4 separate regions of the Homo sapiens genome follow, and regions 2, 3 and 4 are each linked to region 1. The links are contacts of gene promoters, found by promoter capture Hi-C in human tissues and cell types (Jung and others, 2019). All regions are on one chromosome and are shown on one strand. The core of a region is centred on a gene start or on the middle of the fragment in contact, and the rest is flanking DNA. Distances in the headings are between cores, read along the strand shown. Region 1 holds the start of CRADD (CARD and death domain containing adaptor protein). Region 2 holds the start of PLEKHG7 (pleckstrin homology and RhoGEF domain containing G7). Region 3 overlaps TMCC3 (transmembrane and coiled-coil domain family 3). Region 4 overlaps PLEKHG7 (pleckstrin homology and RhoGEF domain containing G7).

Evidence for each region. The method cuts DNA at HindIII sites, captures the fragments that hold promoters and counts their contacts. A contact is called where the count stands out against the background at its distance.
Region 2: a contact is called between the fragment with the promoter of PLEKHG7 here and the fragment with the promoter of CRADD in region 1, in 1 of the 25 tissues and cell types used here (adrenal gland).
Region 3: a contact is called between a fragment that was not itself captured here and the fragment with the promoter of CRADD in region 1, in 1 of the 25 tissues and cell types used here (spleen).
Region 4: a fragment that was not itself captured here is called in contact with the fragment with the promoter of CRADD in region 1 in 1 of the 25 tissues and cell types used here (spleen).

What each region holds. Positions count from the first base shown.
Region 1 is chr12:93,675,321-93,680,330 of GRCh38, forward strand. It overlaps CRADD (CARD and death domain containing adaptor protein), which reads left to right and starts at 2,055. Exons shown (of 3, transcript NM_003805.5): 1 at 2,055-2,152; 2 at 3,449-3,752. The coding sequence starts at 3,455. RefSeq lists enhancers at 1,296-2,111, 1,900-2,139, 2,112-2,926, 3,743-4,557. The HindIII fragment of the contact is 15,222 bases long and covers 1-5,010 here.
Region 2 is chr12:92,700,399-92,705,408 of GRCh38, forward strand. It overlaps PLEKHG7 (pleckstrin homology and RhoGEF domain containing G7), which reads left to right and starts at 2,591. Exons shown (of 17, transcript NM_001377329.1): 1 at 2,591-2,734. RefSeq lists an enhancer at 2,732-2,791. The HindIII fragment of the contact is 15,061 bases long and covers 1-5,010 here.
Region 3 is chr12:94,632,703-94,637,712 of GRCh38, forward strand. The region is part of intron 1 of TMCC3 (transmembrane and coiled-coil domain family 3); the gene reads right to left. Among named protein-coding and RNA genes, the nearest start is that of TMCC3, 15 kb to the right of the region's middle. The HindIII fragment of the contact is 3,075 bases long and covers 1,571-4,645 here.
Region 4 is chr12:92,769,426-92,774,435 of GRCh38, forward strand. PLEKHG7 (pleckstrin homology and RhoGEF domain containing G7) reads left to right here. Exons shown (of 17, transcript NM_001377329.1): 17 at 663-3,030. The coding sequence ends at 770. EEA1 (early endosome antigen 1) reads right to left here. Exons shown (of 29, transcript NM_003566.4): 29 at 1,212-5,010. Among named protein-coding and RNA genes, the nearest start is that of PLEKHG7, 69 kb to the left of the region's middle. RefSeq lists a silencer at 1-14. The HindIII fragment of the contact is 3,936 bases long and covers 36-3,971 here.

The DNA.
Region 1 (5,010 bases), core at 805-3,304:
CTCAGGCAGGTTTTGGAGGATTCTGGATTTCAAATTTTTGTATTAGGGATGTTTAACCTGTAAACTTCAACGCTTGGCAGTGTTGCAAGTGGTCTGCACTTTATCTGGATGAAGACAAAGAATGGTGCTAACATTTGTCTATGAACAGATGGGAAATCTTGCTGAGGAAAGGACAATGATTCTCAAGCAAAAGGGGAAAAGGGAGAGAGAAAAGAGAGCACCTGGAACTCAAGAGTATCAAGAATGGGAGGTGGCAACAGGATGATTTGCAAATAATATTTGGCTATCATTAGAACAATAAACTCTTCACTATACAAGGTTGTATGGTGTATTGGAAAGAGCATGAAATCAGAGAAACTTCATTAGACTTCAAGTTTTGCTCTATATTAGCTGTGAGATTTTGCCTAAGACAATTGACCATTCTGATTCCACAGTCTTTATACATGCAAATGCTAAAACAGTTGTAACAGTGGAGATACATTGTGAAAAATGTGTCATTGTGCAAACAAAATAGGATGTACTTATGCAAACCTAGATGGTATAGCCTACTACATACTTAGGCCATATAGCATAGCCTATTGCTCTGACCACCATCATATATGCAGTCTGTCATTGACCCAAATATTGTTATGCAATGCATGACTGTAATAATAATAATACTTGCCACATAGGTAAAAATACTGTCATTAACGGTGTAGTAAAATGGTAACTGGCATAGTAATGCTGTAAATTGAATACAATTTTTAGAAGGTTTTGAGGAGGGAGGTTCAGAACTGTTCTCCATTGATTTGCTTAACAAAGATATTTTCATTTTCCACCAAAGGGTTTGGCTGTGAAAACCTTTGCAGAAATAATATTTTAGGAGTTTTTTCCCCCTGTACTGTCAACTGATTTTTAGTAAGCATATGACTTTCTGTATGTATCATCCAATTGATTTAAAAATGAATCAATGAATGTATTTATTGATCGCCTGCCTCGCTTCACAAAGGAATGTGAGGAAGGACACCCAATTTGGCATTGCTGTGTTTCTCTGTATTTGGGTCATGCATTTTTTCTTGCTTTCCACATTGAAAATGTGGTGGATGCAGTAGATTGGCTTTAAGTGTCAGGCCTTCCCTCATTTACTATACCTTTTTGTGTTTCACAAGCTGGAAAGCTACCAACTACATGCTCTAGACATCCTTGCTGCTAATATTCTGCATGTCAGATTGGTCTCACCAATGGCACGCAGCAAAGCAAGATTTGCAGGTGCTGTTTTCTTGCTGCTGGCAAATGCAGCCGTGGAGACCACCGTTTTTTGCAGCACTGTTCCAGTGTCCTGTTAATTGTTCTGTCGGTGTTGAGAGGAGGTTGGGGACCAGGCATGGCAACTTCCTGACGCCATCTTCCTGATTGTGGGCAGCAGCCACAATCAGCAATCTTATCTAGGTAGTCATCCATGGATGTTCAGCTCAGCCCTTCTCCAGCCTTTCCAATGATTTCGAATGTCCCCAATTCCCCCTAACGAATCCCTTTCTGACTAGGAGTAACTAGCTGAGTGCTGCAATGAAATCCTGACTGACAGATTTGTAAACTCTTTGCGGGCAGGAACCCTTGATATAAATAAATGACCTTGCATTTTAATGGAGGGAAGCAGAAGGATAAACAAATGAATAAGTGAAAAGTTTTAATAAGATGGTGATGCGTAAAAAATAAAGCTGGTTAATGGGGAGTGCAGGAAATGAGCGCAGCTGTCTTGCCGTTTTAATCAGATAGGTCAGAGAAGGCTTCTCTACTAGGGTGGCTTTTGACCTGCCTCTCTGTTAGGTCAATTGTGTGCGAGGCCCTGATGGAGTTACTGTGTTAAAATGCAATGATTCAATTACTCCATTACTTAGATACCCTTTAAGTGACACTACGGTTGTCCATCTCCCCGCTATTGAATTGTTTACCCACAGTAAGCATGGCGGGAAGAGCTTCGATCCGACCCTTGAACGCTCAATAAAAATGGCGACAGCACTTCCTGTACTTGCCCTCAACAAAGATGGTGTCAACACTTCCTGTTTAGGGTTTTCGCCATTAACAAAGATGGTGCTTATGGGGCAGGTTCCCTAACAGTCAGGATTCCGGTTGCAGTTTTTCTCCCCCGCCCCAAAGATACGTGGTTGCAGACGTAAGTAACAGGAATCCATCTTTCTTTGAAAGTCCTGCATTGTAGCGTCTGCGACCTGGGCCCTGCGGGGGCTTCCCCGCCCCGCTAACTTGCTCCGCATTTCCGATCCGGGCCAAGGCTGGGTGGCTGCGGCAGTGCCGGAGGCCCGCTCTCCCCTTGGTCCGCTCTTTAGTTCATTCCCAGCACTCCCTCTTTAGCGGGTCAAGTTGCCGCAGAAACCGCCCGTAGTCTTCCTGTTTGATACAAGGGTTTCAGCGGCCGAAGCAGAGCCTTTTTAAATAGTTCCCAATGGGCGCTCACGGCCAAACGTGAACACCTCCCCTCCTCACCTGTCACCTCCTGAACTTTACAGGGTTGCGAGGGGGAGTGTGGGATCGGGTGTCGCCTAGCCGTGGTCGTACTGCCCGGGTGTGTCTGAAGCCCCATCTGTCATCCCTGCCTGCCTTCCCGGTCACTTAACCTTCACTGCCTTACACACAACCAAGCCACAGCACACTGGTGCAGGGGTGGTGGAACTGCACCTTCAAATCGTGCCTGGCTACTGACCAGTGCTGGGGTGTGTGCTTTTTTTGAAAGAAAAAAATCCCATAAAATGTCCCATGCATGTGCGGCCACGACAGTGTTGTGCTGGAGATTCGGAATTCTTAGTGGGAAGGAATGGAGTCTGTGACTGTATATTGTGTAAAGTTTATTGTAGACTGGGCACAAACAACAATTTTCTTAAAGGTGATCGTGTAGAGGACTTTTAGCGAAAAGAGCCTTAAATTCTGAACCTGCTGATTTCTGTCCTGCACTCCTATTACTGATCAGGTTTTGCAAATACTTGTGATCAAAAAAAGGGGACCTGCGTCCACCTTGGCAGTTTCTGCCTTGGTGGTGGTGGTGCAGGTCTGATGAGGGCAATGTGAAAATAAAACCACCATTTCTTCTCCAGCGTGTTAAAATTAGTGCTGCTCTGTAATCTTCAGATAAAAATTGCTTGTTCAGAAGGGTCTCTGACCCACTTTTTTTTTTTCTTTTTCCAAATTTCTTTATTGAACGAGGAATTGAGCTGGGACCCCATTGTGTGAAAAGCAGAAACAGAAAAGATGATTCATCTTCATTGTTGTTCATTATGTTAGGAAACATTCAAAATTAACCTGGCTTGGCTTAATCAGTGAATTAAATACCATGACCTGGCAGTCTGCTATGGTTTAAAGATGTGCTTGACCTGAAGGAACTTACATTGCAGTGACACTGTCTTTAGGGCCACATCAACATGTCTGTAATTTGAGCTGTGATTTTGGCTCTTTCCAGGGAGAAATGGAGGCCAGAGACAAACAAGTACTCCGCTCACTTCGCCTGGAGCTGGGTGCAGAGGTATTGGTGGAGGGACTGGTTCTTCAGTACCTCTACCAGGAAGGAATCTTGACGGAAAACCATATTCAAGAAATCAATGCTCAAACCACAGGCCTCCGGAAAACAATGCTCCTGCTGGATATCCTACCTTCCAGGGGCCCTAAAGCATTTGATACATTCCTAGATTCCCTACAGGAGTTTCCCTGGGTCAGGGAGAAGCTGAAGAAGGCAAGGGAAGAGGCCATGACCGACCTGCCTGCAGGTAGGCCTCAGAAAGATCACTTTGAACCAGCTCCAAAATGTTGTAACTATGCTCTTTGCTTTTTTGTTTATTTGTTTGTTTGTTTTTGAGACAGAGTCTTGCTCTGTTGCCCAGGCTGGAGTGCAATGGTGTGATCTCGGCTCACTGCAACCTCTGCTTCCTGGGTTCAAGCAATTCACTTGCTTCAGCCTCCCGAGTTGCTGGGAATACAGGCATTTGCCACCATGCCCTGCTAAGTTTTGTATTTTTAGTAGAGATGGGGTTTCATCATGTTGGCCAGGCTGGTCTCGAACTCCGTACCTCAGGTGATCCACCCACCTCCGCCTCCCAAAGTGCTGGGATTACAGACGTGAGCCACCACACCTAGCCAGAACTATGCCCTTTGGATTTGAAGTTGGGATGTAAGGCAGGACAAGGGTCAATGGTTGATGAAAGTGGGTAAGGATTTGGGACTGAAGGGACATGACGTTGGAGGAATAGGATCAGGAGGTGGCATTAGGAAGTGCAGGGAAGGAAGAATGAACCGTGACTGGGAGGTGAGGGAGGGAGCTCAGAGAATGCATTTAGAAATGCTTCCAGGAAACCTGGCATGTCACTTGGGAAGCATGTTCTCATCAGAGAGCCAGGTCATATCTCAGCCGTTGGCATCAGGAGCCATTTGGAAAGTGCAGATGGGAAAGCAGGCATTCGGCCTACTGACAACTGATTTGTGAGGTGCCAGAGCTACCAGCTGGAAAAGGTCAGATTCATGGAGGAGGAGACAGCCTCTAGGAAGGCATGCCCTGCACCTGTCCCCTGGGCTGTCCTGTGTGGCCAAAGGGGATTATTTTGAAGGCTGACTTAGTTTGTTTTTAAAGGTTATTCGTTTAAAGTGTCCTTTTTAGTTTAGCTTTGTTCAGACACTGGAGTATTTAATTTTGCAAAGAGCAATAGTTTGGGGAGGGTCTCAGTTTAATTTGAAGGAGAATTGGAAGCTGGAGAAGAGAGAAACAGTTCTGGTTCTGTTAGCCTGGCTTGTAGCAGGAAGAAGATGTGATATGGAAACACTTGCTTTTTCTTAACCTCCCTTGACTCTGTTTCACAAAGATAGAGGGGCAGAGAACTGAACTGGCAAAAATTAAAAATTGAAAAAAAAAAGTAATTGAAAGTTGGCTTGCAAATTTTTAACAAAGTTAGAGAATCAAGGTTCTCTGGGGTTTCTGATAAGAGTGATAGAACTATTCCGGTTCAGTGGGCCCCAGACTTCGTGGTTGCTATT
Region 2 (5,010 bases), core at 1,341-3,840, 970 kb before region 1:
ATTTCAACTATTAATGACTGAAATCATGCAAAAATGTCTACAGACCTTTAAAGGAAAATACCATGTTGCAAGAATTCCATGCCCTGCACATGTGATAGCAAAATAAAGTCATTTTGGGGTATGAAACAGCTCAGAATATGTACTACCTAGAAACTTTTCCTAAATAAATACCTCAGAAATATTGAAAGATATCAAGATGCATTGATATTAATCTGATAGTCACCTTTTTTTGTTTTGGTTTGTTTTTGAGAGACAGGATCTTTCTCTGTCACCCAGACTGCAGTACAGTGGCATGATCACGGCTCACTGCAACCTCAGCCCAAGCATTCCTCCCACTTCAGCCTCCCAAGTAGCTGGGACTACAGGTGCCCAACACCACACCCAACTAATTTTTGTATTTTTTGTGGAGACGGGGTTTCAGCATGTTGCCCAGGCTGGTCCCAAACTCCTGGGCTCAATCAGTCTGCCCACCTTGGCCTTCCAAAGTGCTGGGATTACAGGCATCAGCCACTGTGCCCAGCTATATTAATCATTGTAAATATGGTACAACTGAATTTTTGTAGCCCTAAAACCTAAAAGGAAGCTCAAATAAATCTCATACCTCTTTTCAACAACTAGAAAGAAAATATCTTTTAGGAATTTGCCAATTCAAAGCCATAAAGTAAGCAAACCAGGATGTCATCTTTTAGCATAGACATACTTTTTAAGGTATACTTTTTATTGAAGCAAAGCATACATAAACGTAAAACTACACACAGGCAAAAAATGCTGAGGCGAGCTGCTCCCTCTGCGATATTGGAGAGCACCTCCATGTGTCATCTGAGAAAGGGCCACAGTGAGGTTGCCCCAGGTTCTTAAAGGAAAAGCTGACTCTGGGGTGTCCCTTCCCCACCCAAAATGCCTCCCTGTTGCCATCTCCTTGACAAATCAGATGGAGGTGGCACATTTTTTTCCGTGATAATCTTTTGTGACCTTTCTATAAGACTCTTAATTTCCTTCTTGAAGTTACAACCAGAGGTTGGAAGTTTTTGCATTGGGATCAAGTATTCCATTATCATTATCCCCTAGGAGAGACAGCTTTACAATCCCATGTGCGTGAGGGGATTGGTAGAAAAGAGTATGACCTTCCTTCCACAAACTAAAAGCTAAAAGACTTTATTCATTTTTTTCCTTCCCAAATTGAAGCAATTCACTTCTAGACATCCTTGGCAGGAGCTCAGAACTGTTTATGCAGGCTCCATGCAGGCAAAATATTTTTTGATATCCTGCTTTTGGTTGAGTCATGGTAATGTTGGCAATGGTGGTGAGGGCAGGAGATCAAGTCATTTTTCAAAGTTCTAAGTAAATGATGTTCTAGTAAGATCAATATGAGAGAATTAAAGACTAATATAAAGTTTATCACAAGGCCAACATCTATAAGTTAGACCTTTTTTTCTTTTCCTCTAAGGGCAGTGGTTCTCAAATTTTAACCCATGTAAGAATCACCTGGAAGTCTTGTTAAACACAGACTTCTGGCTGGGCACAGTGGCTCACACCTGTAATCCCAGCACTTTGGGAGGCCGAAGTGGGTGGACCACCTGAGGTCAGGAGTTCGGACAGCCTGGCCAATATGGTGAAACCCCGTCTGTACTAAAAATACAAAAGTTAGCCGGGCCCTGGTGGTGTGCACCTGTAATCTCAGCTACACAGGAAGCTGAGGTAGGAGAATCGCTTGAACCCAGGAGGTGGAGGTTGCAGTGAGCTGAGATCGTGCCACTGCACTCCAGCCTGAGTGACAGAGTGAGACCCTGTCTCAAAAAAAAACCACGGACTTCTGACCCCATCCCAGAGTTCCAGGGGTTGGAGAGCATGGAGGGGGAAGATTTTTCCTTTCTAACAAGTTCTCAAGTCATAGTGATACTGCTGGTCCAGGGACCCTACTTTAAGAACTACCGACCTCAGGGAACCTTCACAGTAAGTATCTGTAATGAGTCCAATCAATGAAAACTTCAGTGAATTAGACTTCATTAGAATTACTTCAACTTTGTTTTGGGAAAGTCTATAGACATTTTTGTTTAATGCTGCATACATATGCATTATCTCCACCTAGGCATCAAATAAATATTCTTTGGGGTACTGATCTAATGAGAATACTGGTAGATATAAATGCTCTTCCATTTGCATTTTAATTATTTGAAAACTAATGTTCACAAATTCACTCCCTGGTGCTCTAATCATTTCCTCTACTATTCAATGCTTATCAAAGCAAGTCATTAATAAAATAGATCAACACAAAATGTTTTATGATGTGAAGAAAGTAGAGTCCCAAAGAATGCATCTCACAACCTTAGAGAAAATAAATGAAATAGAAACCTAGAACTGCTTCACTGAACTATGAGTGATGATTTGTTGAATGCCTCAAGAGGAAGTAAAAAGTTACATTTGCATCATTTCTGTATTTGATCAGCCGTTGTTTACCTGACTTGTTCTTAGGCTGCCTTAGATTCTGAGCTGGCTTCCCTTTAGGCTTTTTCATAAACAAATAACTGGAAATGTCTCTAAGGAGGGGAGAGACCAGTTCCTCATTGCAGCTGGTAGCAAGGTTGCTTTCACTCAGCCAGGAGGACGCATTGTTACAGGTGTGGAACTTGTTGCTCCGAGCCCTCGCCTGGCAGCTCACTCTGGATCTGCGGGTTCTGAGGAGCCTCGGGACCCACCTGGGTGCAGTTGCCTTCAGGGACAGACCATCTTACAGGTATTAAAGGCAACATTCAGCTGCTTTCTGGGTTTCTCTCTTGCACTTTCCTTTTGTCCTATTGCTATCAGTTTCGCTTGTTTTGCTGATCTCTCCAGGTCTCATTAGAATTAGTGAATCATTAACCTGCAATGGTTTCATTTCTAGTACAGTGAGATGGCTTCCCCAACAGTGTGGGTGGGTGTTTGCTGGATTCTCAAAGCTTGGAAGGTCAAAGGTTGGTGAATTTTCTTTATGGTGACCATGTATTAATTTCCTCTTTTAAACATAAAGAAGAGTTAGCATGAATGGATTGACTTGTTAACTTTTGATTCTACCAGATCCACTGGGTGTAGTCATTTAGGGAAAGCTTCCCAGGAGCCTTAGCCATTATCTCATTTAATTTCTGCAACAGGCCTGTGAGGGAGGTTCTTTGATGTCCTCTTGGTAAATGCTGCATGGCAGTTGGCAGAGGAGAAGTGGCTTGTCCTAGGTCACACAGCCAATTGGCGGTGATACTGGAAGAGAAACCAGACCCATTTCTTCTGGTGCTTGAGCTCTTCCTGCCTTTCTGCAAACCACCTCCCTAAGCCCTGCTGTTTTTAAAGTTTCTCCATTTCCGCAGTGCATCATGTCGGCAGTTACTATTGCCTTGGTTCCAATATTTAAGACAGTGGCTAATAAATAATTCTTACCGATGTGAATCCTATTGGCCATAAATAACTTCCTACCAGCAGCTACACCCCTGTGTCTGAACGACTACAAAGGAAACCCAAAGCCGTATCCTAACCCCTCAAAAGAGGAGAGGAAAAGGCCAGAAGGACAGAGGGGAAACCCAAAGACTAAGAAATCTGATCTAACTATTATGCAAGTGCCTATGCAAATATACTGAATTCCTTTAACATTGTTGCTGCCTAGAACTTGGACAGTCTTCTAAAGGAGAAAAATAATAGAACGGCCCTGATTGTATGTATGTGTGAAAGTACCTATTGATTCAAAATTAGCTGGGTGGGGTGGTAAGCATCCATAGCCCCAACTACTCAGGAGCACTGCAGCATGAGGATTCTGTGAGGCTAGGAGTTTGAGGTTACAGTGCGATATGATCACACCTCTGCACTCAGCCTGGGCGACAGAGCCAGACTCCATCTCTAAAAAGAAAAAAAAAAAGAAAGAAAGTACCTATAGATTTGATGCTCAGCTCAGCATTTGTTTGTTGGGAGAATGAGGAACTGGCCTCTCCATGTAGCAACAATGTACCTTATTTTATCAATGGTAGGGAGGGACCATTTCATACCTCTCCAGCAATGTTGGTATCAACCTTCAGAGCAGCCTCCAGGAATTACCAATCTAAAACCAAAACTAGTACAATCTCACCTTAACTGAACATAAGTTTCCTAAACTGGCATTGCCCTCTTTCCTCCACTCTGCAAAAAAGGGTACCTCATGGGTTTTAGTTCTACATGTGAAGTTCTATAACAATTGAGTCCTCAGCTCAAAATAAAGCAAACACAACATTAAGAATTTTAGATTTCTTTTGTGAATAAGAGTTGAATTGACGTTAGTTTGCATCTAAGTTGTTCCTCAAACAACTCACCAGTCTGAAATCCAGTACCTGTTAGTTTCATTTGGCATTTTAAAAAGGTTTTTATAGAGATGGGGTCTCACTATGTTGCCCAGGCTGGTCTTGAACTTCTAGGCTCAAGGGATCCTCCCGCCTTTGCCTCCCAAAGTGCTCGGATTACAGGCATGAGCCTCTGTGCCTGGACTTACTTGACCTTAAACAAGGTAAGAGTCAGGGAGTAAAATAAGAGACCACAAAGTCCCCAAAATCAATGTCAAGTCACAACATTGTCATGACAATGTCATAACATTGAGCTCCTCCTCTACTGATAGGAATAGATCTAACAACCTATTAATTATCTATTCACAAGGTTGTTGGACTTCTATGACTGACACAGATTAAAAGAAACAAAGAGGAGAGAGTGGTTGCCATAGGCAAGTACAAAAAGCATAGTGAGAAGTAAGGAATAAAAATTAGGGAGTACATTGGTGTGGGGCCATTTGGTGTGGGAGTGAATATTCAGATGCTATAGAAGCCTGTAACAATTATTGTATTCTCCACAGAACTATAGTAAACATAGTAGTAATCACTGTATTTTGGCAAAGTACTAGAATGATAGTCAACAGAATGAGGTCAGGTTATAAGGAAAAGGTTTATTGGTTTTCAGCCTTCTCTATATCAAGTTAAAGAAGCAAATAATACACCCTAGAAAAGTTCTACTAAAAAGTATTGCCCA
Region 3 (5,010 bases), core at 1,858-4,357, 960 kb after region 1:
ACCTGTTTGCCATTAGAAGAATGGCTGTAAATACACTCTGGTTTTATTCATGTAGCAAAATAACATACAGCAGTAAAATATGAAAATGAAGTAGGATAAATTATAAAAATACCACATTAGAAAACTGTAATTACAAGGCTGGGCATGGTGTTCCAACACTTTGGGAAGCCGAGGCAGGCAGATCACTTGAGGTCAGGAGTTGAAGACCAGCCTGGCCAACAGGGTGAAACGCCATCTCTACTAAAAATGCAAAATTCGCTGGGCATGGTGGTGCGCACCTGCAGTCCTCGTTACTTGGGAGGCTGAGGCAGGAGAATCACTTGAACCTGAAAGGTGGAAGACGCAGTGGGCCGAGATTGCACCATTGCACTGCAGCCTGGGTGACAGAGTGAGACTGTCTCAAAAAAGAAAAGAAAGAAAAGAAAAGAAAAGAAAAATTGTATTTACAAGAGATGCCATGTATGCAGAATTGTAACCCAAGAATACATATATTTAATTAAATACATGTAATACAATAAATTGTTTATGGATTCATCCAGTGTGTGAAAACACGCAAAGGAATGATACACAGCTTCAGGTTATGGAGGCCTCTGAGGAAGCAGGAAGAGAGAAAGGCATCTAGATAGCTGTTTATGGGACCATTTATTTCTTAAAAACAAGTGACAGAAATTTGATGTAAACATGGCAAAATGTCAACATTCATTAAATCTAGGAGGCAGATATATGGGTATCATAGTTTTAAAATTTTTTTCCATGTTTGAAGCACTTAATAATTCAATTTGTCTGCTTACTATTTAATCACAGAGCCACTTGGTTAATGATTACGGTTTTCTCCAGGCACCAAACATTTGCCCCTCTTTGTGAAACAGTTGCTGTTTCTGATGGGCCATTTCATTACCTTATAATTTTGGAATCTGATGTCACTGCATTTACTTCTACATTAACTTCAACCTTAAATTAACAACCACAGCAATCATAAACTTAGGAAAATTAAAATCCACTGAGAAGTTAATAAGCTTGCTGCCCTAGAAAAATATCTAGGCTCATTTTAGGCTGTTGTGTAAATAAACTAAGAAGCAATTATTTTAAAGAATTATTCACTAACAGTTCGCTGAATGAGTTACTAACAAGTAACTGTGATTTCTGAAATATCCAAAGTATCAGGAAACATTAACATAATCTTTGTATTCAGATTTGGTATTCTTTGTTTTTCAATAGTACATATATATTATTCTTTTTGTTTTTTATTTTTTTTTTTTTTGAGACAGAGTCTCGCTCTGTTGCCCAGGCTGGAGTACAATGGTGTGACCTCAGCTCACTGCAACCTCCGCCTCCCGGGTTCAAACGATTTTCCCTAACTCAGCATCTCAAGTAGCTGAGATTACAGGTGCCCGCCATCACCAGCTAATGTTTTGTATTTTTAGTAGAGATGAGGTTTCACCGTGTTGGCCAGGCTGGTCTCGAACTCCTGACCTCAGGCAATCCGCCCGGCTGGGCCTCCCAAAGTGCTGGGATTACAGGCATGAACCACCGTGCCTGGCCCAGTATATGTATTATTCTTATTTATCTATCTGTTACCATTCTAATTACCCCAAACATGCAAAAAATTATTTAAGAAATGAGGGTTGGGAAGGATCAACATTTAATTTAAAGAAAGCCACAAGAATGCAAGACTATTTCATCCATTTCCTATTTGGCCAAAAAAACAAAAGTTTAAAAAAAAAAAGTCTGTTGGAATGGTAGGCTCACTTTGCAAAACTGTCCTTAAACAGCAACAAGTCTCAAGACCTCTCATTTTAAGTCTTTCTTTAAAAATAAGAGCTTCATTTGAGCCCTGAGTACTTCAAAAACTTTCTTGGTATTAGATCATTTTAAACAGCCAGAGTGCGAGTCAAACTTCTCAATAGTTGAATTTAATGTGCTCCCACCTACCCAAACAATAAAAGCATTTCTAGGTGGTAGAAACAGATGCTGATTTTGCATAAGTAAGTGTCCCTACTGCTCCCCAGGTAGGGCATAAATGAGCCACCTGAATGAAAGAGACTCACTTTAATTTTGGTGCCCACATGCCTAACAGACACCAATTCTGTGAATGCCTCTAAATTGCCCAGCACATGAGGTAAGCTTTGGCTGGCTTTATGCAACACATAGTACTTGATAATTTGCTTAAGTCAGGAGGCTTCTACAAGCATGGTGCCTTTCCCAAATGAAAGCACATGTAAATAGCATATTCATTCCACTCTTAATATGCTCTTGAATCAGGTTATAAAATGTTAAGTGTTAGTTTCTGGGCACAGCCCAGTTTTAACCTCCTTCTGTGTCAGATGCAGAGATACAAGGCAGGTGGACCGTTCAATAATTAACACAAGCGCATCTAGTGATATTTAGGAAGGCACAGGAGTAACATACAAGTAAGAATTAAGCCAAATAAGGAAACAGATCGTTACCTACAAATCAGAAATCTTGTTATATTCGCCATCCTAACATAAGTGACAAACCAACTTAAATTTCCCAGTACAGATCCCAGCACAAGGATATTAAATATGTTTATTAAATAGGAGGAATGTGCAGGCTTGAAAGCAGTCTGGGGCTAACAAAGCAGAAGCAGTAGTCCTGTGACCTGCAGAACACAAAGTTAGGCTGGGTTCCTGCTCTTCCATCTCCCGAGCTGCGAGCTGCGATGGTGTGTCACAAATTACTTAAGGTGGCAACAGTGGTTTGGGAAGCAACAATACACATTCTATGTACCATAACAGTGTTTGCAAACTGTAGAAGGGCAGGATTTTATAACATTAAGTCGAATTTGATGAGAGGTAACACTTAGTTCAAAAGAGAATTAAAAGCAAAATTTTAAAACACACACGCACAAAACTTTGCTATCTTTTCCTCTCAGCCTTTTGGTCTTTCCTTACTGTAAATAATACTGGAGTTATGCCTGTTTTTGTGTGTGTATGTGGGTTTTTTTTTTTTTTTTTTTTTTTGAGACGGAGTCTGGCTCTGTTGCCCAGGCTGGATGGAGTGCAGTGGCACGATCTTGGCTCACTGCAACCTCCGCCTCCCAGGTTCGAGCAATTCTGTCTCAGCCTTCCGAGTAGCTGGGATTACAGGTGCCCGCCACCATGCCCAGCTAATTTTTTTGTATTTTTAGTAGAGACAGGGTTTCACCATGTTGGTCAGGCTGGTCTGGAACTCCTGACCTCAAGTGATCCACCTGCCTCGGCCTCCCAAAGTGCTGGGATTACATGCATAAGCCACTGAGCCTGGCCTCAAAATGTTCATTTCAAATCCCTGAGGGGAGAGGTTGGGAAGGGAAGAGGAAGAGGACTATCAATCCAGAATAAGTGTGGCAGAATTACAACCTTCTGTGTTCGACAGATTTAAAACTCATGGAAAAAGTAGACATTTATAAAAACAAAACTTGATACATATGAACAGCGGTATATTTTTAAAGACAGGTAACAATGCAAAAAATTGCCCTGGGATAACTGTATAGACATCTGAAAAGGAATTGAATAATTCTAACTCATTCAAAGATTCAAATATACAAAAATAAAAATCATAAAATATATTAGGAGAACATGGGCATGTGGGCTTTTAAAAAATCTCAAAGTACAAAGGCCATTCTAAGAATGATACAAACCTATAAACCAGAAAATGTGTAGATTTCTTCATGGCAAAATATGGTTAGTATTTATTCAGCGCTTGCTATCCACTAGCTCTATGCTCAGCACACACCAAACATATAATTCAGGGCAACAGGCAGAATTCTAAGATGATTCCCACGATGGTACCCTCCCACAAGCAAGACTTTTGAACATGATGGAATTTCACTCCTATGGCTACATTATGTTATATGGAAAAATAAAGGAATTTTGCAGACATAATTAAGGCCCCTAATCAGTTGATTTTAATTAATCAAAAGGGAGAGTGCCTAGGTGGGCCTAAACTAATCAGGTGAACTCCTTAAAAGAGGATCTAGAAGTAAAAGACAAAATGCAACAAAGATGCTGTTCATTGGCCCTGAAGAAACAAACTGTCGTGCTATGGAACATGCCCTGTGGCAGAAAACAGTGAACAGCCTCTGGCGGCTGAGGGCCTCAGGTCTACAGTTGCAAGAAACCTAATCTTGTAAATATCCAGTGAGCTTGGGAAAGGATCCCAAGCTTAAGAAGAGATTGCAGTCCTGGTTGACACCTTGATTTCAGGCTGATGACACACTTGGCAGATGATGCAGTTAAGCTGCAGCTGGACTCCAGGCCTATGGAAACTCTGAGATAATTAAATGGGTGTTGTTTTTTGAAGTTGCTCAGTTTATGGTACTTTGTTACACAACAGTTAAAAAAAAAATAGAGTCAGGAATGACAAGCTGGGAAAAATGTACTTGCAAAGCAATTAATTTAATTAGTAGAAAACCAATACAAATCTATGTAAAAGACCAACAGCCAATAGATAAATGGCAAGAACATACATATAAACAGCTCATAAACACAGACAAATGTCTTTTTAGTCTATGAAAATATGATCTATTGTACTATAGTTACATAAAATGCAATCATTGGGAGAAGCTGGGTGAGGGGTACATGGGACATCTCTGTACTATTTTGTGCAAATTTCTGTAGAGCTGTAATTATTTCAAAATAAAAATTTTAAAAATATGACCAACCTCATCCATACCAGGAAAGATATACATTGAAATGGGCTAGGAGTTTTCACCTATCAGATTGGCAAGGATCAAAACAGTTGAAAACATGCTGTGTCCGAAGCGATGTGGGTAAAGGCATGTTCACACATTAATGATAGTTACACAAAGTTTACCAGTGTTGTTCAGTGCTGCATCCTTAGCTCCCAGTGTTCAACACAGAGTAGGTGCAGTGTTCAGCGTGGTAATATCATAATTTAAAATGCACATGCCCTTTGGCTGAGTAATTAGATGCTTGTGAATTTAGCCTGCTAACATATTCCTCACATGTGCAAAAATAAGTAATGACCAAAGACTGGAAGCAATATACC
Region 4 (5,010 bases), core at 754-3,253, 910 kb before region 1:
TGAACCTTTAAGATGCTCCAATCAGTTTCCAAAGTGCATATAATAGGATATTAGCTTAAGGAGGGCCTGGCGCAATAATGATCCCTGTCAAGTCAGCTTGTCAACCTTTGAAAAACTGCCATTGTTTTTACAGCTATGGAGTTGAAAGAGCAGCTGCCTGACTCTGGTTTCTCTGTCTTAGAAGTTTCTATTTTTGTATTTCCCCTGGTAGGCTTTCATCATATCTACAATGTGGCCAGACAACAAATGCAATATTCAATTTCCTGGGTCACTGCCCTCAGTCTCTTTCAAGTTATACTACAGGTTAAGAACTTGTTTCCACAGAGAATAGAAATTCCAGCAATGCCACTTTCAAACTACATATATTCTCAGTGCTCATTTTTCTAATGAGTTATCATTGACTATTGTTTCTTGATTACTCATAACTGTTATCCAACATGCATACCATACTCATTTAGCCCATCTGCATTTTCCTGTAAGATTAGAAGTATTTATATTAGATGTAAGAAAGAAAATGGGAAACATATGCAAATGTTTCATTAGTCTTCAGTTTTAAAGAGCTGGTCAATAAATATAGCAGAAAATATTAGCCCAAATATGTGAGAAATTGTCAGCTTAACATTCTAATCTCTATTTATGTATTTTTTTCTTTTTTTCAACAGAAAACATGGATGGCACAAATAACAACTGCAATTTCTTGCTTTACCAAGAGTCAGGAAACCAAGAAAATATCTTTATTCACATTGCCCGCAGAATCCTCTGAAATTTAGGGACCTAAAACAAGTGGCATGTCTTTTTAGAAGATTATGGTTTAAGGTATAATTTCATTCAAAGTTTTGTAACACTTAGCTAGTGATAAGCTAGAAGGAAATTTGCATTTTAAAGAAGTTTCAGAATTTGAAATTTTGAGCTAGGAAAATCCTCAGTATAGAGGAATAATGACTGCAACAAATTTGAACTCTGAGGAATTTCTTGACAAATATATACTGACATCCAGATTACCTTCTAATGCTTCCGTCAGGTTTGTAAGAGGTGTGAGTGAAGAAAGGTGCTAATTTGTAAAGGGTGAATGATCAGATAAATGGAGTATCAGAAGGAAAACAATGTCCACTGCTTATGTCCAATATGAACTCCAGCATCTTACTCTGTATCCATAAAATAATGAAACCAATTTTCCTTCATGGCCTGTCAATCAGTCTTAACCGCTTTATAGTCCTACCTCAAACATAATGATAAATCTTTAGATACAAAGCTTGATTGTTCTTTTAATATACAAAGCAATAAATAGGGACTACATTTAAGTAGCAGTTTTAAAATTCCTATTCTCAAACTCATCTCAGGTATATAGTACTCTAACGTGGAAGTAGAAAATCCCAAAGACTAAATTCCATTACTTTAAGATAGGAAGAAAAAAAAAATCTGGCTTTCACCAGTTAACACTTTTGCATGGCTTTTCTTGGCCTGTTGTGAAGTGTACAGATTTTCATAGACATAGTAAGGTATCTGTCTCTTAACTTTATTTTTTGAAGAATGATGGTGTTTGCCATAAAAATACTTTCTGGTTTTGATTGGTGTGTGTGTGTGTGTGTGTGTGTGTTAGCACAGTACAGTCACTTAATTTTATTTGGCAGGACTTCAAATTTCTTCAGAATTTTTATCATGAAAGGCAGTTTGAATAATTATTATCATGGCAGGATATATACTATTAACTACATTCAAGGAACTAGTTCTTAGGGTCAGATTATTGCATCAAAGGGAAGTCCACAAACTTCCATTTCAGAATCGTACCTTTTGCAATTTGCAAAGTGAAAGTAGTAAATTTATCAAATTTGGCTGCAAGACAACTGAAGCCTTAGCTGATTTTGTTAAGCTGAAGAATGGGGTAGAGAGGATAATGTTTGGGCAAGTCATGTGCCCAGTAATTCCTTGAGGAAGGTGAAATTTCACTATGCAAACAAAGCAGTAAAGACAAGTGCAGCAGAAAGGCTTTTGTACAAGGCAAGCACTATTAGAATGGAGACTAATAACCTCTTTATAATAATGTCAGAAATTTAATAGAAGAAAAAAAGGAAAATCTGGAGGACAGTAACTATTGTTAATAGCTAAGAATAAATGAGGTGGAGGGGAGAAAAAGGGGAGAATAGACTTCAAGCTTCAAGTGAATTCCTAGAGATGGCATCTGGATGGGACTGAAAGCAGTTATGTCCAGGAGAATACAATATAGATTATGCAAGAGAAGATTTTATAAAGAAATTTCTGGTTAAAAAAAATTTTTACATTAACAATCATCTTGCAAATGTTTAGATATAAACTAACCTCGGAGGTGAGCAGTGGACTAGGATGAGGTGGCCTCTCAAATTCCTTTAGTCCCATGAATCCAGCAACCACAGACTTACATGTATAAAGGTAGTTTTCTCCCTCTGAATCTCATTAAAGGGAGAGACAGACTGACTAAATTAACAAAATATATAAAACAGCTCAAGAATATGCTGTACATAAACTGGAATTCTATAAAGCTCACAAAGTAACATGTCTAATATACAATATATTAGATGTTTGAGGATATGCACATTAAACTCTTTGGAGGGTTTAGAATGAAGCACATTCGAATGAAGGGATCACGGGGGTCAGAACAAAAACCATTCTAGAACCGTGGCTCCCAGGAAGAAAAAATAGCAAAAAACAATGGCACATTGGGCCTTCCAAAAAGTATCTTTGGGGAGGGGAGGGAGAAAAATAAATAAATAAATAAATAAATAATGTTTTAAGTATCTTTAAATGGTCATCTGGGTATTAAATGCAGACACACAATGAAATAAGGGGTTAATTACATATTTTTTATATTTGTTTTTAGTTTTGTTAATTCTCTACAATATTAAATGGAATGTCTAAGGCAAAATGGCATTAATAATTTCTCTTGAGATCAGGAATTTAATTACTATTCGAAATTGAACAACATTAAAACACCACTGTCTATATCCAAGTGCAAAGTCCTAATATTCTGTAAATAAATTAATGCAAAATGGTTAATACAGTGTTCTCTCTTTTGTTAGACAAAACAATTTATAGTCACAGAATACAACTAGTTTAGAAAGAAATGTTTTTAATATAATATTTAAACATATTAAAAAAAAGCAACAATTCAATAAGGATCCTTCCATTGTTCTTTATACAGATTTAAATGCTGTCACGTACTTTATCAGTTACATTTATAATTAATAACCTTCCAATCACTGAGTTTAGAAATTGCAGTATTTACTGAGCTAACCTTTCTCACAAAGTAAGGCACAACTACATGATCACAAGTAGTAAACACAATACAAATAATGAACCCAAAAACTAAATGAGAAAATGTTCATGCATAAGTATCTACAGAACTTATGAATATATGATCCAGTTCAAGGAATTACAGAATGTCATATACACAACTGCATTGTGTTACAATAAATTTATTACTTCTACACAGAAAGAACTTAGTGACTTCTAATTCTATTTTATACAATTTTACATAAATTTAGTAAGTTTATGCACAATATTCACATCTGCAACAATAACAAATTGATCATTAAAATTCAGGCTAAGGGCAATTAAGACACAATAATGTGTGGCACGTTATAATTACAGAATACCATTCATCAAGCTCATGTCTAGGAATACTATAATGGTGGCACATTTAAATCTTATGGATCAAATCATCCATGGTTTTATAGCCAAAGTGCATTTTTTTAAAAAAACTCCTATAGTCAAACAGGTCATGAATATCAAAATATATGATCATAATTTGCTCTCTACTTAAAAGCTAAACATTTTTATGCAAATGTAAGGTTAAAAAAAAGTGGCTTTAAAGTTCTCAAAACTATATAAAATAATCATAAAGACTTTTTTAAGAGAGATGGGAAAATAACAAATTTGGCAGTTACTATTTAACATTACTGTCAGGAAACTATTAAAGTAGATAATTCCACATTAAGAGGTAGTTGAACAAAATGTTATTTATACACTGCATTGAGGTTTTTGTGTTTGTTTCCCTCATTTTTTCTTCAAAGGAACAAATCCTATACCAGCAGCTTTGTCTTCTTTCTATTAAAAAAAAGTCTGTAGGTATAGTTTATTGTACACTAACCCAGCAAGACTTAATTTTAACTCACATTCTGTGCCGGGGTTTGGAATTTACTAACATTATGTCAATGTGCTTTTCATTAAAGCCAAGAGCTGTACATGCCAGCTTTAACTGACTGACAAAATAATAGTACCAGCAAACATGTAAAATGTACAGCCAATAAGGACTTCAAAGATGACTTTTTAATTAAAAGGAAAAAAATTTAAATTTTTATTTCGAAAACACATTAAATTGGGGAGAGTTAGTAGCAAAAAATGTTCGGTTTCATTTATATTATCAGTATAGTAGCCTATGGTAGGTAAATTACTCGGGACTTATGAAATGAAATTAGATAAAAATGAGAAAATCATTCAAACACCTATATATGGTTACTTGTTGTCTTAAAATTTTTTTGTGAGTATTTTGGGGGTAAAGGGGAGACAGACAGAAGGCCTGGAGTGGTGTTCAATTAGGAGACAAAGTAAACAAATATTCAAACCCAGATTTCTCATGGAATTTATTATCTCAAAAAAAAAAAAAAAACAGTGGTGCTGTGAATATCTGTGTTTTTCCAGCACACTTATTAAGTTATTTATATGTAAAAGGATAGAATTAAAACTATTTGGAAGGATTTATAAGTATATAAAAATGCATAAATAGTTCAGTTTATATTATCCAACTATTATTTTTAATAAAGAGCCACTGTATTTCTTCATTATATATGTTCAAGGATATATGTTTATCCAAGTCCAGGGACTTAATCAATGTTCTTAATAGCTAATGACAACAGGGTTTACTTAAATTTTTTTTTAAATAATTAAACAAATATGTAGTGATCTCTTTAGTTTACATACACTGTAGGTATAGCATGAATATAATTTCATTTCAGAATATTTGAAAGCAAATGTATA